Regions from separate parts of the Homo sapiens genome. Here region 1 is linked to region 2. Evidence: promoter capture Hi-C in human tissues and cell types (Jung and others, 2019). All regions are on one chromosome and are shown on one strand. Each heading gives the region's core, a stretch centred on a gene start or on the middle of the fragment in contact. The rest is flanking DNA. Distances are from core to core; before and after follow the strand shown. Region 1 overlaps LOC112268104 (a long non-coding RNA gene). Region 2 holds the start of KLRK1 (killer cell lectin like receptor K1).

Region 1 (5,278 bases), core at 2,142-4,641, 340 kb after region 2:
ACCAAATTCTTCCAAACTCAATTACTTATCTGCACATTTGCTATCAATTATTATGAAACTTTCCTGAATTCTTACTTTCTTATTTCATCCACAAAAAACACAAAGAAAATAAGTTATTTGAAAAAATAGCAAATTATGTAATTTTGAGCTTTTCTATGTAATTCATCAATATTTAAAAAATTACAAACTCTTAAATGTTAGATTCATATTTTAGTTTGACTTCAGTATGGAGCATACAGTGATGTTATATAAATGTAGATGCTTTTAAAATGCTGGTCTAATTCTAAGAATGATTAAATTATTTCTTCATGTGAAAGATTATGGTCTTAATTACAATTAAATTATAAACATGATTTATTCTGGTGAGGACTGACCATTGACTTTCTTATTCAGCAAAATGATTATCATTGCTATTTACCTTTCAGAATTACATTACAAGAAAAAAAAGTAAGGAGATTGAACTCTTCAAACCGATCCAACAGTAAAGCCTTTTAAAAAAATTCATCCTTGGAAGTAATTCATAACTAACAGGTGTGATCTCCAACCTCTGGAAGACCCTAAAATAATTACAGATGCACCCTGGGATTTCCTAGAATTTGTGCTGGACTGGCTTCCAAAACTACTCATCATTGTCATCCAAACAAAGCAGTGAGCAGCTGGAAGTTGTTGGTATTGTACTAAATAAATCTAAAGAAAATTAGAACAAATATGATCTATGTTTTAATAATCATAAGTAGGAAGCAACTTGGATACAGATACACATAAATTTATCCATTCCTTCATTCACTAATTCATACACTCATATTTGCTAAGCAAATGCTATGTCCCGGACAAAGTACACCATTGTGAGTATCCAATGTTGACCAAAATGGAGCCGGTTGTAAGGTCTTTTGATATGATGTTAAAATTATTTTTCACTATCAACATTTCTATTGTAAGACAATATCATCATTTACTAAGTTTAAGAGTAAGTCAACAAAGAATTATAATCTAATTGCTGACAGCAGTCATTTTTAAGCAATTATTGGTTTGATCATAAAAACAAATGCCACTCTGTTCCTAGTATGGAGGAAGTTAAAGCTCTCACAACTGTTGGAAGGGCTGAAGGAGGGAAACTCAGAGAAGCTCCACTGAAGATCTCAGCCTCCAGTCCCCAAGACAGTGGTTCTCAGGAGTTCTCCTGAAGCCACTGGAGCCACAAGATCTTTCGGAAGTTCTCAGCAATTCAGGGCTGGATTCAGGTTTTGTGATGCTTAAAACTAATACAATTTAGAGAGCCCTTTTTGAGATAAAATAAAGTTATGAATACTAAAATGCTAGGACTGCTCCCAGAGTCTTCGAAAGGGTCCGTGCAAGACAGGAGCCCTGAAATTTAAACTTCATTAGCTTTACTCCTGCACCTGCTATCTCAGTCAGCAACACCGATGCAGTAAGTCCTCAAGAAGTTCATCTGGAAGCAGCTTTGATGCCGATGCATCTTTCTATAACTGACTCTGGTATATAATGGTCTTCTCTTCTTCCTTCTAAACTTTGAGCGAAAGGCTCTCATTGTTAGATTCCAACTTGGAAATATACAGGCCGGGAGGGAGATTCTGGGAAATGTAGTCTCTGCATTTGAAGAAGCTAAAGTTGATGCTAAATTGACAGGAGGCTATCCAGCATATCACCCTAAGGAAGAAAATGCAATTAATTGACTAAGGAGATTGAGGAGAATTCAAGTTATTCAAGGGACTGGAGCTTAAAATAAGGAAGCTTTGTGTATTAGCATATTTGAAACTGGAAAACAGTGAAGTATTAATCTCAACTTAATTGATACAAAAAAGAACATGAGGGAAATGGTCAGTTTGGAACAAAAAAGTGCAAGAATAAGAGAGTAAAGGTATTTCAGGATGTCTCCAGCAATGTTCAGGGGGAGAGTGGACCTTGGTTATCACGCTCTGTTTGGCACTCAGTAGTAATGCATTCAGCACATTTATTAATCATTGCAATTTGGTGCTAAGAACATCATGCAAAACAGGCAGGAATGCCCCTGTATTGAATGAATTAATGGTATAGACCCATACTGTCCCATTGGAAATATAATTTGAGCCCCAAATGTGAACCAAATATTTAATTTTAAATTTTCAAGCAGCCACAATAAAACAGTAAAAAACAGATGAAATTAATTTTAATAGATTTTACCTAACTTAATCAATATAAAATATATATTATTTCCACATTTAATCAAGGGTAAAACCATGAATGATGTATTCTACATTCCTCTTTTTTTTTTTTTTTGGTACTATCTTCAAAGTGTGTATCTTACACTTCTAAGACATCTCAATTTGAACTCACATTTAAAGAGTTCGGTGTGGCTGATGACTACCATATTGAGTAGCACAAGCCTTCTAGACAATTAGAAGTTTAACCTGAATAATTCTTCAGGATTCCATTGGGAAAAAGTCCTGGGCCTGAAAGCTGGACCATACATCAGTCTGTGGCTACCCAGCAAGATAATGCTACCTGTTGGGCTGGTTTGAGCTTCCTTTGTGACATATAATATCCAAAGAATTTACATGAACCATAATGCCATAATTCTGAATAACTCTATAATGATGTCACTGATGATCTCTAGGGCATGTAAACAAAGTGAATTTACAATATCCATTCCCTGTCACCACTGCCTTTATGGACTATGCTTCTTCTTTAACTTTCACATATATTGGCCTACCATAATGAAGATGTATTATAGGATTTCTTCCTTTTCATTAAGAGAACTGAGAATATGGTGGGGAATTGGCTGTGACTTTACTCTCCCCTATGGGAAGCTGGATTTAGAGTTCAGAAAATGTTGCACCTCTAGACCTGAAATTATTAAGCAGGAGGAAAAAAAAAAACAAGCGATTACTGAGAAGTTTTGAAAAACCTGATTATTTCAGCATATATTGATTTTATATAAAAGTTCCAGCTTCTAAGTGACTTTGTTGCATTTGTTTTGCTTCTACTTATTTTCTTAACTATTTAGATGTGTTCTTAGTGTTTAAAGACTAGGAGATTGGTACAGTTTTGGTGGAAGAACTTGACAAGATTATCTGATAAGTAAGAACTAGAAAGAAATGTATCCATCTCAACCCCACTCATTTTAAAAACAAGGAATTGCAGTTCAGAGATTAACTGACTTTCTCGAACTAATTTATGTATTTAGTGGCAAAGCTAGAACCAAAACCTGAGTCTCCTTATACCCAATTCAGCGCCCTTGCCACCATAAAATTCTGATTGACAAAATGTCAATGCTGTAGCATTGAGTCCCCTCAAAAATAAAGCAAGGCAGCACTTTGGGAGGCCGAGGCGGGTGGGTCACTTGAGCCCAGGAGTTCAGGACCAGCCTGGACAGCATAGCAAAACCCCGTCTCTACAACAAACAAACAAAACAAAAACCAGCAAAAATTAGCTGTGCTGGACATGGTGGTGCATGCCTGTAGTCCCAGCTACTCAGGGCTACTCAGGAGGCTGAGGTGGGAGGATCACTTGAGCCCGGGAGGTCGAGGCTGCAGTGAACCATGATCATGCCACTGTGCTCTAGCCTGGGTGACAGAGTGAGATCCTGTCTTAAGAAAAGAAATAAAGCAAGGCTCTCTGGCCACTGAAGGTAATGTTCAGATCTTTCCAATTAGGACCTCTGGAGAGGAAACCAAACAGCTGTGTGCAATTTTATTTTACAGCATTTTGGAACGTTCTGAAACAATGAATAAAATATATTCTCTTCTTCCTAAAAAAGCTTTATTCTGTCTCTTTTTGCACATACTATTTTTTCTCTTTTTTTCTGTTTTAATCTGCTTTCTTTATTCTTTTAACTTTCTTTGTCACCTCCCTTTATGTCCTCACTTGTTTAGGAATTAAATCTCAGAGAATGTCAAGTCTAGATTCTTGTCTAGAAGATATAGTGTCTTTTATTTCTTGGTAGATATCATAATTCTTAAAAATGCACTCTCAAACAGCAAACAAAGAGGAAAAGGGACTCTCAAACAGCAAACAGAGAGGAAAATCATCCAATGTGTCTCTTCTTCAGTTTTCAAAGAATTTTTCAAAATTCTTCCTTCTCTTCTCTTTGAATTGAACTCTTCCTTTTAGTCAGACTTTCATTTGATCTCTATTAGCATCCCTAGTGGCTCACCGTAATGATCTATTTAAATACTCATCTTTTGGAGACATCTGTTTAATTGGATTTTGATGTTCCTTTAACATGGGAACTTTGGAGTAGAAATTGAGAATGAGAAAATTTGGGAGAAAGAAAACTGGTTCCTAAGAAAATTCCAAGAGAGAAAGATTTGTTAAAATTCCATCCAAGTTTTAACTTCCAAATGATAAGGTAATTATATATATATATATATATATATATATATATATATATATGTTCAAAAAAATGCATGTGCACATGCACACACACACACACAGACGACCACAAAATAGTAGTATTTGCTAATGTATATCTGAATATGTATTTATTTTGACATTATGGACTAAATATAAACAAGAAGTATAATATCTGCTTCTTTCAAGGGTTTAGATCTCCAGAAATTTTACTGTACTGTGAGCAAAATATTTCTAGTTTTTTATTTTCTTTTATTTTGCTTTTGCCAAATCCCTTGCATCCATCACTGTTGGTCTTTTCGTAAGCGTGGCATGGTAGGGAGCAGAATTTTAGCAAAAACGAGTATTATGATGGGATAACTATTTGTTTGGGGTGCTATAGAAAAATACCTTAGACTGGGTACTTTCTAAACAACAGAAATGCATTGCTTAAAGTTTTGGAGGCTGGGAAGTTGCAGATCAAGGCACCAGCAGGTTTGGTGTCTGGTGAAGGCCTGTTCTTCATAGATGTTGCCTTCAGTGGGTCCTTACATGGTGGAAGGACAAAAAGGCTAACAAGCTCCCTTGGGTCTCTTTTGGGTGCCAATCCTATTGGTGAGGTCCTGTGCTCATGACCTAAATGCCCCCAAAAGGTCCCATCTCCTAATGCCATCGCTTTGGTGATTAGGCTTCAACATATGAATTGTGGAGAGACACAAACATTCAGACCATGGAACCTATGTCTTTACTAGCATGTATTTTACTACCATTTCCATTTATAGATCAGCTTGCTGCAAATTTCCAGAAACACATCAACCTAATGATATTTTACTTTAAATCATAAAATATAGTTTTAAAATAGTTTTAGTAAAATAATTTTTATTCTATTGTATTCTTTTTTTGCAACCTGCAGTGATTTGCAACATTAACTCTCAAGCCAGCTTTTTCT
Region 2 (5,371 bases), core at 1,984-4,483:
TAAAGTCAACTGAATGATTGCCATTCATTTAATCACATAGTTTCCAAGATTCATTTCAATATACTGAGAGTAGACAAATGGAACATAGGACTTACCATTTTCTCTACATTTGCTTTTGACTACTGGACATCTTTGCTTTTGCCATCGTGTTGAAAAATCACTCTTCTTCAGATCCAAGTTATAATTATGAAATTCACTCATCTCTAGAGAAAAAGAATTCAGGCTTATATGAGTCATGGCCTTTCTGCCATTTGGGGCATAAATTTTAAAAATTCAGCTTGCCATTTCCATCTATGTACTTCCCCTGACTATCCTTTTTAAAGTACAACATGAACTTACTTTTGTTTTATAGTACTACATTATTATGTTTACACTTTACTATATAAATAAAACTATATTTATGCCATGGAAAGTACCCTTAGCAAAATCCTATATACTATTAAAATTAGTTAATTCGTAATGTATAATGAAACCTAACATTACCAGAAAGGGACTTGGTTAGTGAAAAGGCAGATGTAGGGAGAAAGACATGTATTTAAATCACAGATCCACATATACAAACTTGATAACTTCACAAATAACCTAGCTTTTGCATCCCAGTTTTCCTAATTTGCAAAAGACGAAAGAAATAAAAAAGAAAAGGATACTGTCACAATCCAGTATGGGTATTTTAAAAATAAAATAAAAATATAATGAACTTAGCATCAATAACATCAATCATTTAGTAAGCTTTTAGTAAATAGCAGTGTGTCTAATTTTCTTCTTTTCTTTTTTTTTTTTTGAGATGGAGTGCAATGGCGTGATATTGGCTCACTGCAACCGCCGCCTCCTGGGTTCAAGCGGTTCTCCTGCCTCAGCCTCTTGAGTAGCTGGGATTACAGGCTTGTGCCACCATACCTGGCTAATTTTTGTATTTTTAGTACAGACGGGGTTTCACCATATTGGCCAGGCTGGTCTCGAACTCCTGACCACAGGTGATCTACCCACCTCAGCCTCCCAAATTTCTGGGATTATAGGCATGAGCCACTGTGCCCAGCCATCTAATTTTCTTTATAATGAAGGACATACATAGGCTAAAATAGTGGGGTCTAATGATTTAGAACAAAGACAGATAATCTTGCCTCTGAACAAAATACCTAAAGAATCATTTTGCTCTCTTGAAATATTAATTATTTACTGATGATTAATATTTACTTAAAAGCCTTTTTTAAACTTTTATTTTTGGTTCAGGGGTGCATGCGAAGGTTTGTTACATATGTAAATTCATGTCACGGGGGTTTGTTGTACAAAAGCCTTTTATAAATTAAATGATAATATGAATTATATTTTATAGGTAAAATTAGACATTGATTGCGCATGTAATACCTAACTCAGTTATTTTACATATGGAGTAAAGAGAGTAGGTATCACTTTATGGATGAAGAAATTGAATGCTAGAGATGGCCAAAATCATAAAGCTTATTTAATATAATGTTACCAACTGTGAATAAGTTATAAATTTATAAACACCTTTAGGATAAAAAGTGCTTTAACATACATGTCAGTTGATTTGAATATTACACAAATCTAAGATAAATATGGAATGTTTCATGCCTGTATTTGATAGAAAAAGAAACTAAACTAAACTACACAGAGGTTGCAAATTGACCCTTCAAATCTAGAGAGCGGTAAAAGTTTGAGTAAAATTCAAGTCTGACTCCACATCTATTTCACTATTTCAAGCTGTCCCAAGTTGTGAGCGACTTTACCATAATATAGTTAATAAAATAAAGGGAAAAAAGTTTTTAAGTTTTGGAAGACTTGATTTAAAATACAATATGAACATAACATGAAATCAACATAAATAGAACATGAAAAGAATCAGAGTAAATTGCTTGCCTATGCCTTATATGCTTGTATGAAATTCTTGGTATCTTAAAATTGTATAAAAACAAAACTACACACTTATGTGGTAAAAACATACCCCAGCTGTGTCGAGACCTCCGACCACGAATCCACCCCATCAAATACTTATAAGTGCACGTCTACCGCAGAGAGGAATCTAAAGTCTTCAATGCACAAAGGATTCCTGAATAAAATAAAACTGGGCATTTGTTTTTTGTTCTCTTTCCCGTGGTGAGATAAAATATTTTGAATAGAAAAGTAAAATGCAGAAACTTTTCCCCTGTGCATGCCTTTAAGAAAAGAATAGAAATGACAATTCACATAAAGCCAGGCAAAATTAATTTTATACATTTCTCTTGGTTGTAAAATAATCGCCAATTACTTCAAAATGTCATAACAATATAATGAACCTATTAATTCACCTACATTGAGATATTTAATACCAATATTTTACTTTACTGATATTAGATAACAACACACCCAGTTTTCTGTTTATAGTCGTTTATTGCTTCTTGGCCTTTTAGCTAAGATCAAGTGTTTCCAGTTGTTTATTTTATCTGGCAATAATTTAGTTTTCTTTCTGCAAGCTAAACTCAGGTAAGTTATATGCACTTTTGTTGAATGTCCTTTTCTAGTGCATTTTAATCCAACGTGCCCATATCATCATCATCAACAAATTATCATCACCATCATCATTAACAAAACTAATCTCACATGTTTATATAGTAACATCTTAGCAATGCACAGCAGAGCTTCCAGAAAAAACCATTTAATAAATAAGCATAGTGCTTAGATTTCAAAAATAAAAGCTATTTCATATTTGATTATGATAGTTGGAAAGCACAGATATAACTTGTTTCACCTTGCATGTAAAGATGTGTATCAAAGGTAAGTGCCCCCTACAGCATCAGAAAACTCAAAAATTTGACAATTTAAATTGAATCTCAATTCTTCTCATCCTAAATGTAAAGATTCATTTTTCTAGTTTTGCTTAGAGACAAGGCTTCTTCTTATAGTAATATTACAACTTCTGATTCTTCAATAAGTATATCCTAATTACCTATCATCAGATACAGTGATAGAATATACATCAGAAATGATAAGCATTCCGTATCCTCAGGAGTTCTATTCAAGCATCTAAGAAACAATTAGAATTACCTTATAGTGTAAATATTTTTATTTTTTTGAGGTTGAAATATAATTTCTCATATCTTGAATAATAAACACACACACATACACACATACACACACCTGCTCAGAGAGGGAAGATCTTGATTCTTGTGGATAAAAGCCTTCTATAAAACTAGAAAATTTAGATATGTCCTCAGTTCCTGATCTAGAATTGAAAGTGGAGATACTTAGTGAATTTCTATCTTTGAGAAAGATGTGACAAATATTATAATCTCATCTTCCTGTGGAAAAACATAAACCACAGTACTTCCGCCTTATCACTACAAAAATATTGTTAATTTGGTAAAAGAGTTAAGACCACCCATTGTTGGATAAATGTTAGGTTGGTGCAAAAGTAATTGTAGTTTTGCCATTATTTTAAATAACATTTTAGGATTTGAAAATGATGAATTTAAATGATGCCATTTAATCCTAAATATTTTAGAGATTCAATTCAATTCCAGTTAATACCTCAGGTTTTGTTGTAGAACTTACAAAGCAGAATTCTACATGTACATTAAATTACAAAAGTCAAGACTAGGAAAGTCACAATTGAAGATGAAGAAAATGTGGGAGCCTTGTTTTACTAGATAGTAAGACCTATGTTAAAACCGTATTAATAAAGGCAAAGTGGCATGTGGGGCATAGATAGACAAATTGAGAAGGGTAAAAATACAGACAAGAAAAAGTCATGTGCATAGATTAAAAAATATAAGGTAACATTGCAGATAAAGTGGGAAATTAGCTCCTATTCAATAATTTGTCCTGGGTTACTATCACACTGGCCTTTAAGTTACAAAAAATTAGTCCTGGGAATTTTTAAATTTTAATATAAAAAACATGAAATTGCATCTCTGTCATATCTACATCATATGCAGGAGAATTAGAAACTTAAATATATACCCCAGTATACATAAGAATAATATATGAATTGATACCAATGAACAAGATAAGCTAAATATATATTTTATGTTTATTAATTTAAAATACTAACATAAGACATCATATAAAGTAATATAAGATGAACACATTATAACATTTTAACAAAAACCAAAGCTATTAATCTTAAAACTCTGAAATATAAGGAAGGAAAACAGCTTTCATGTGGTGATGTGTTAAAGTTGGACAATAAATTTATTCAACATTTTTTTTCTTTAGCGAATGCTATTTGCTATGCACTTTTCTAGATCTTGAGAATGTCAAAGTAAACAATCCAAAAGAAAGTTTTTGCCCACATGGAAATTAATTACTTTTTTTTTTTTTTTTTTTAAGAGATGGAGTTTCACTCTTGTTGTCCAGGCTGGAGTGCAACGGGGCGATCTCGGCTCACTGCAACCTCCGCCACCTGGGTTCAAGCAATTCTCCTGTCTCAGCCTCCAGAATAACTGGGATTACAGGCATGTGCCACCACACCTGGCTAATTTTTGTATTTCTAGTAGAGACGAGGTTTCACCATGTTAGTCAGGCTGGTCTCGAACTCCTGACCTCAGGTGATCCTCCTGCCTCAGCCTCCCAATGTGCTGAGATTACAGACGTGAGCCACCACACCCAGCTGGAAATTACTTTTTAGTTTAGGTGATATAAAATGAATAAGTATAAAACAAATTCAAAATTAAACAAGATAGGTGAATATAAAACAAGTTGAAGAAAATATGTTATTTTCTGACATACCAAGATTCTTTTCAGCTAATCAACATTTTCTATTAGCTATTTTATATAGTAAAAATAGATCTATATAGAGGAAATATAGGCTGATATTTTCTAACAACTACATTTTAACAAATATTTGGTTTTTGAAAGGAAATGAATAAATGAGTAAATGCAGGCTTTTTATGGGAAAAACCTGAATCACAATTTCCTGAAGAGTTATTTTTATATATGTAGTTTTCGATTGAATAGAGATTGTCTCTTAAATACAGAATTGAGAAAAGGGGGATAGGAATAGGATAAAAAAGAACATTTGAATATCCTACCTATTTCGTTTAGTTCAAATGGCAACTTACAGCCAACTGGGAAGTCCCCACACATACCTAAAAGAAGATTTCTGAAATAAATACCATGATAAAGCTAAGCACCAGGGAGAGTTTTATTGTCATATATAAAGGTCCCTAAACCAACTGACAGAGTGTGGAAAGGATTCTTAAAGAAGAAAATTCTAAAATGGGTCCTGTATGTCGGGTTAAAACAATTAGTTAGATAAAGAAATAGTATGTTAAAACTCCAATTTCTTTCTCAATGTTGAACATACACTCACTTTGCTGTAGTCATGATAGTAAACTTATTGGGGATTTGCTGGGCATTTGTACTGGTTTATTCT

What was found. Contacts are between HindIII fragments. The study calls those that stand out against the background at their distance.
Region 1: a contact is called between a fragment that was not itself captured here and the fragment with the promoter of KLRK1 in region 2, in 1 of the 25 tissues and cell types used here (hippocampus).

Annotation. Positions count from the first base shown.
Region 1 is chr12:10,724,612-10,729,889 of GRCh38, forward strand. It overlaps LOC112268104 (a long non-coding RNA gene), which reads right to left. Exons shown (of 4, transcript XR_002957443.2): 4 at 1,581-1,668. LOC124902876 reads left to right here. Exons shown (of 2, transcript XM_047429946.1): 2 at 426-707. The coding sequence ends at 495. Among named protein-coding and RNA genes, the nearest start is that of YBX3, 3.9 kb to the left of the region's middle. The HindIII fragment of the contact is 5,604 bases long and covers 590-5,278 here.
Region 2 is chr12:10,386,808-10,392,178 of GRCh38, forward strand. KLRK1 (killer cell lectin like receptor K1) reads right to left here and starts at 3,234. Exons shown (of 8, transcript NM_007360.4): 1 at 3,136-3,234; 2 at 1,964-2,068; 3 at 96-203. The coding sequence starts at 2,003. KLRC4-KLRK1 (KLRC4-KLRK1 readthrough) reads right to left here. Exons shown (of 13, transcript NM_001199805.1): 6 at 5,028-5,084; 7 at 1,964-2,068; 8 at 96-203. The coding sequence starts at 2,003. The region is part of intron 3 of KLRK1-AS1 (KLRK1 antisense RNA 1); the gene reads left to right. The HindIII fragment of the contact is 5,458 bases long and covers 1,094-5,371 here.